Regions from separate parts of the Homo sapiens genome. Here region 1 is linked to region 2. Evidence: promoter capture Hi-C in human tissues and cell types (Jung and others, 2019). All regions are on one chromosome and are shown on one strand. The core of a region is centred on a gene start or on the middle of the fragment in contact, and the rest is flanking DNA. Distances in the headings are between cores, read along the strand shown.

What was found. Contacts are between HindIII fragments. The study calls those that stand out against the background at their distance.
Region 1: a fragment that was not itself captured here is called in contact with the fragment with the promoter of CBX1 in region 2 in 1 of the 25 tissues and cell types used here (liver).

What each region holds. Positions count from the first base shown.
Region 1 is chr17:48,341,777-48,345,110 of GRCh38, forward strand. The region is part of intron 4 of SKAP1 (src kinase associated phosphoprotein 1); the gene reads right to left. Among named protein-coding and RNA genes, the nearest start is that of SKAP1-AS2, 49 kb to the left of the region's middle. The HindIII fragment of the contact is 7,800 bases long and covers 1-3,334 here.
Region 2 is chr17:48,099,967-48,103,161 of GRCh38, forward strand. It overlaps CBX1 (chromobox 1), which reads right to left and starts at 1,512. Exons shown (of 5, transcript NM_001127228.2): 1 at 1,302-1,512. RefSeq lists enhancers at 1,245-1,844, 1,671-1,930 and a silencer at 1,251-1,300. The HindIII fragment of the contact is 10,755 bases long and covers 1-3,195 here.

The sequences.
Region 1 (3,334 bases), core at 330-2,829, 240 kb after region 2:
ATCCTGATGCACAAAGAAGCTCTAAAATATTCTCACTTCTATCCAGATTTAATTGTTCAATATCCATTCACCCATTCTTTAATTAGAACGTAAACATATATAACAAATAAATACATTATCATAGATTTTAGGTTTCTTCTAAAATAATTTTATTTTTTCTTTTTCTTCCAGAAGGAGTCACTATATCCTGCTTACAGAATGATCACTTTCCCCAATCCACTTTAAAAAATAATGTAGGTATGCAGGGATTCTTCATTATACTAACAAAGTAAGTTTATAAATACATTAAAATCCACTGTATATTTGGACGCTGAAAACAATCAGATCTTGAGCTTTGTAGTTGCCTGGCTCTTGTACTAAGTATTGTGGTCAGTGTTTCCTACTACATTTTTTTCCTTCCATATGGTAAAAACTATGCTTTTAGTTCAGAAATCTAAATGTTATTACTTGTTAGCAAGTTTTTGTTCCCGATGGTGGGGCTGTGCTCTTGTGGGTGTCTCTCTCTGCCTTCAAATTGTGGGCATTTACAAAGGAAAAGGAGAAGGAATTGTAATTAGGTAGCAACAGGCTCTCATTTTTATGCATGGGTTAGCCTGTAACCTTGGTTTTCATTTTTTGCTGTGTACCTGGCCAGGTTTCTATATTCTTCTAGCACTCTTTGTAGTTTTCACAAAGTCATGACCTAAACACAATATGCAGCATGCTTCTATATTCTTCTAGCACTCTTTGTAGTTTTCACAAAGTCATGACCTAAACACAATATGCAGCATGGTTACTGCCCCTCATCACTAAAATTATGGGTGGATGGGCCCGACTGTGTATCCTTTTATAATGGCAAGTCTAGGATACTACTCTAGCTGACAGTGGAAGACAAAATATCTGAAATATTTTCACATTTTCTAATGAAGACAAAATTCGAGAAGCCTAAAATAACTGTCATTACAAAGAATGTTAAAGAGGAATATCTGGGAGGCCAAGGCGGGTGGATCACGAAGTCAGGAGATCGAGACCATCCTGGCTAACACGGTGAAACCCCGTCTCTACTAAAAATACAAAAAATTAGCCAGGCGCGGTGGCCGGCGCCTATAGTCCCAGCTACTTGGGAGGCTGAGGCAGGAGAATGGCGTGAACCCAGGAGGCAGAGTTTGCAGTGAGCCGAGATCCCACCACTGCACTCTAGCCTGGGTGACAGAGCGAAACTCTGTCTCAAAAAAAATAATAATAAAAAATAAAGAGGAATATTTTTTCTTCATAAATAATTGACTTAGCTATCTATAAAGACACTAACTTTATATTTTTTTATTTGTCTACTTATTAATAGTTTTCCCAGTGAGATGGTAAGCTCCATGAGGGCAGGGACTGTATCTGCTTTCTCACTGCATTTTTCACCTGCAGCTTAACACAGTGTCTTGGTGTTAACTAGGAATCTTTAAACAAACATTTGTTTAAAAAAATGAATAAGTAGCATATCAAGTGTTACCATTCTCTATAATGGTAAAAACTAATTAAATAGGATATAGAGATTGCTAAAAATTTTGACACCTTTATAACTTTCTCTTTAATTTCACAGGAAATGTATGTATCTTTAATTTTCAGGGGATGAAAATGAACATTTATTGTGCCTGTTATGTATTAGGCACTCAGGCACTGTGCTAGATTCAATGCTTTGCAGAAACTCACATTTAAACAGTATCACATCATCTTACAATCAAGTTTTTAACATAGAAATAGGTCTATTCCTACCTCTACCATTGACTATGTCACTTTGGGAATTCTTTAATTTCATGCATAGAACTAAAAACAAAAATTTATTAAGTAAGAATTTAATATTACTAATATAATTAACTCCTCTTATGAGTTTTGCACTTTGGAGTTTTCCAGATTTACCTCTTTCAACACAAATGTTTTTCCTAAATTTCAACTATTTTAATGAAAATATTTTTAAGCATAGTATTTTTATCTGTATGGTCTTAGCCAAAATGTTTGGAGTATGAATCTGCCAAAATGTTTGGAGTATGAATCTATTTTTTTGGATATCTCAGATAAGGATAGTGGTAAGGATAGTAGAGTGGTTAAGAGCAGAGGTTTTAGAACCAGACTATGTATGTGTAAATCCTGGCACTACTACGTACCAGCTGTGTGATTTTAGATAAGTTAACTTCCCTGAGTCTGTTTCCTTGTCTGTAAAATAAGGGTAAACCTAATATCCACATTTTAGGGCAGTCTTGAGGATCAAATGATGACATATGCAGAGTGCTTACCATACAGATGATGCAAGGCAAATAGTAAGTGCTCAATAAACAATAAATGCTGGCTAAAGAAGTTTTAATTTATTAAGGTACTGAGCACTTAGGTGAGCATGCACTCTTTTTCTCTATCATAGAAAATGACCCCAAACTGCTATTTAAAAAAAATTATTCTTAGATAAATTTTATTTATAGATTTTGTTTTCTATATAAAGTTTTGTTCTTGTTTCTTACCTTAATCTTATTGTTAATTGATGCCTTTATAGTACCCCTTCTTCTAATTTGAAGCTCTACTGTGGGCTGAGAAACCAAAACACTGTATTGGTTAGAAACTTGTAAGAAGATTCCTCAGCAAAGGGCCTTAGGGGTTCTTCCAAGAGCAAGGTACATAAGTCACATCTATTTCCACTTAGAGGCCTTTCTGGATTACTTATTGTGTTCTCAGTTGTGTTTGGGAAAGTTGGAAATACCAAATAAGTGACCTAAGGATTAATGAGGCATTATTGTTCTAATTCTGTCAAGCATTAGAATAATCAAAAACAAATGAAAAGTTGATTTCTTCCTGTTTTGCACTGTTAATTTTCTACAATTATTAATCAGCTACCAATGTAATTATTAAACTTTCAATCCAAACAATGTTTTTAGTGTAATACCTGAATCAATACACAGATCCTATATTACAAACCCCATTTTAAAACTTGGGTATTACTAATTGTGCTATTATACAAAATAAAATGTTTCTGTGTGATTCAACCCCCAGTTCTTATGTGGAGGTTATCAAGTCAGTGAAAGGGAAAAAAAACATGAATTGTCAAAAGGGCTAAATGAAATAACAATCAATGGATAAAGTAAAAAGAGAGAGTAAAACAGAAATTATAAGCTCTTGAAATCTAAATAAAAAGAAATGGAAAGATTGCAGACTAACAAAGAAAAGTAAGGAATAATTTACCAACTTTATTCCCAATCCCTAAGCGAATAATGTGTTTCCAATTTGATGTTCAATTTAGTAGCACCTCTACCTTTTTAACCCTACTGGGAAGGCATGAGAGAGACTCTGATAAGAAAACCATGCGCATCCATGATGATGA
Region 2 (3,195 bases), core at 262-2,761:
CGTCTCTACTAAAAATACAAAAATTAGCCGGGCGTGGTGGCGTGTGCCTGTAATCCCAGCTAGTCGGGAGGCTGAGGCAAGAGAATCGCATGAATCCGGGAGGTGGAGGTTGCAGTGAGCCAAGATCGCACCACTGCACTCCAGCCTGGGCAACAGAGGAAGACTCTTCTCAAAAAAAAAAAAAAAAAGAGGTAAAATATAGCTCACTCTATTCAAATTTTCCAACAAGGAAAAGCTGGCTAAAAACAGAAGGGCCCACGAAACAAATATTACCTCACAATCTCACATAATTTTCCTATGTCTCCCAATTTCTCGCACCTCACACGATCTCACAATCTCTCACTACCTCACGCCGTTCCTCAACTATTAACTCATCTACATATTTTTACAATTTCATCACCTTTGTGAGACCAGTTACGATCCCACACAAAAACGTACGGAACTAATTTTGAATCAAAGCAAGAACTGCACTTGGACTTTTTTAACTCCCCAAAGGAATCATGGAGTGAAGGTAGTAGGAAACCTGGAAAACTGAAAAAAGCGTATTCCATCCTTTCTTCGCACATTATTCTTACAGCCTCCCCACTGTAAGGACCCATCAGGATGCAAGGGCGGCCTGCTTTCCCCTTTTTTCTTACATACCTTATAGAAATATTCTCGGGATCTCCGCCCTACTTATCCTAACAGCTCCTCCCCTTCCAGAGTCAGGCCCAGCAAACGCCTGCCCCTCCCCCTCCGTGTCCCCTTTCCCAATTTATTCCACACATCTCCTCCTCCAATCAGCACACCTTGTGCGGCCCTGGGCCCTCTTCCAATTCACTCGACGTTACTCCTCCGTAGTCCTGCAAAGCCAGGTTCCTCTGGCAGTCCCAGCCGGACCCGGCGTCTTCCGAATACAGTTACAAACCTCGGGTTGTGCGGTCGTATGCGCCTCCTCACGCCTATCCAAGCCTCAAGCCTGTCCCCTTCCGCCCTATCCCGCAGCCGCCCAGCCAAGCAACATTGTTCCAGACCACCCGGGCCCCGAAGAGCGGCCCCCAAGTGCTCGGCCCACCCCCAAGCACTCAGTCTCTGGCTCAGGATTCGCGCCCCGCCCTCTCCATCCTTCACGCAGCTGGCACCGACGCCTCAGCGACAGGCGAAGAGCTCAGCGCGGGAAGCGGAGAAGCAGGACGCTGGACCCGGGCGCGCTCCCCGCTCCTAACCTCCGCCTCGAAAGCGCGTTCCCTCACGCAGGGCTCCCGCCGCCGCCGCCGCCGCGCCCCCTCCCCCAGCTCTCCCGCCTCCAGCGGGCTCCTCACCTCAGAGCAGCGCCCAAGAGCCCGAGAGGAATCGGTGCTGCGCTGCTGGCGCGTCGCGTCGGGTCGCCTGGGGGAGTGGCGCCCAGGAAGGCAGCAAGCCGGGTGGCCGCAGTGGCGTCCCTCACTGAAGCGGCGTACCGCAGGCCCCGGCCAACGGCCCTCCCCTCAGCCGAACAAAAGAGCCTCGCAGTCTGCGCTGCCCGCCGCTCGCACCGCGCAGGCGCAACGACCCGCCGCACGGCACCATGGGCCTCGGGGGTCTGTCCAAGACTACAAGGCCCGAAGCGCCGCGCGCCGCGCACGCACAGTAGGCGAGGGTGGTAGGGACTTATAGTTTTTAAACTGTAACGGTGGAGAGATTGCAGCGTAGAGCGTTGTAACCTAGAATATTAGAACATATGGGCCAGGGGCAGTCGCTCACGCCTGTCATCCCAGCACTTTGGGAGGCCGAGGCGGGTGGATCACCTGAGGTCAGGGGTTCGAGACCAGTCTTACCAACAAGGTGAAACCCTGTCTCTACTAAAAATGCAAAAATTAGCCGAGCGTGGTGGCAGGTGCCTGTAGTCCCAGCTACTCAGGAGGCTGAGACAAGAATTGCTTGAACTTGGGAGGCGGAGCTTGCAGTGAGCCGAGATCCAGCCACTGCGATCCAGCCTGGGCGATGGAGCGAGACTCCATCTCAAAAAAAAAAAAAAAAAAAAATTAGAACATATGATTTTTATAAGCGAGCCCCCTGATGCTTGGCCCCCAAAAAATCAACCACTTCTGGACAGTTCTGTAATTCACATCCTCAAAATTTTTGAATCTTAGATTCTTCACCAGAACTTTATCATATCGCCGCTGCCTCAAATTTCCAATGATTTCTTAGTCCTCAATCTCTGCCTCCTCAAATCTCTGTAAAATTCCTACTCACGCCGGCACGGTGGCTCAAGCCTATAATCCCAACACTTGGGGAGGCGGAGGTGGGTGGATCACTTGAGGTCAGGGTTTCAAGACCAGCCTGGCCAACATGGTGAAACCCCATCTCTACTAAAATACAAAAATTAGCTGGGCGTCGTGGCGGGCGCCTGTAGTGCCAGCTACTCGGGAGGCTGAGGGAGGAGAATCGCTTGAACCCAGGAGGTGGAGGTTACAGTGAGCCGAGATCGCGCCATTGCACTCCAGCCTGGGCAACAAGAGCGAAACTTCGTCTAAAAAAAAAAATACTGTTCAGTGTTAAGATTACTTCCCCTTTGAGGTCTTCCCTGATTCCCTAGAGTAGGTTAGGTCCCCCCATAGGCCTCTCATAGCTTCCTGAATTTCCCCCTTTTCACTGGCTGCGCCACAAAAATGTCCTCTTTTTCATTGTAAGTTGTGCTCACCTTTTTCAGTGTCATTAATCTCCGTCAGCACCTTTCACCCAATCATCCCAAGGAAACACACAATTAGGAAAAAAACATGTTTTTAAGCCACAATATAACTAAAGTTTTATTTTTTTATTTTAAAGTATCCTTCTAATCAGGAGGAAGAGGGAAACTCTATTGCACTCTACCCCAAAAGGCAAGAGTTTGCATTTATAAGACAGTTTTGCTGATGCAGGCACTGTTCAGGGCAGGAGTTTGCATTTATAAGACAGTTTTGCTGATGCAGGCACTGTTCACGGCTCTGGAGAACTGTCATGTAAGAAAAACCCAGCCCAGCAATATCATAATAGAGTTTAGTTAAAAGGGCTTCAAGAAAGCACAGAGAAGATGAGAGGTGAAGCCAGCTGGACTTCCTGGGTCGAGTGGGGACTTGGAGAACTTTTCTGTCTTACAAGAGGATTGTGAAATGCACCAATCAGCGCTCTATACCTAGCAAGGGGATTGTAAAATATACCAATCAGCACTCTGTAAAAACACACCAATCAGCCCTC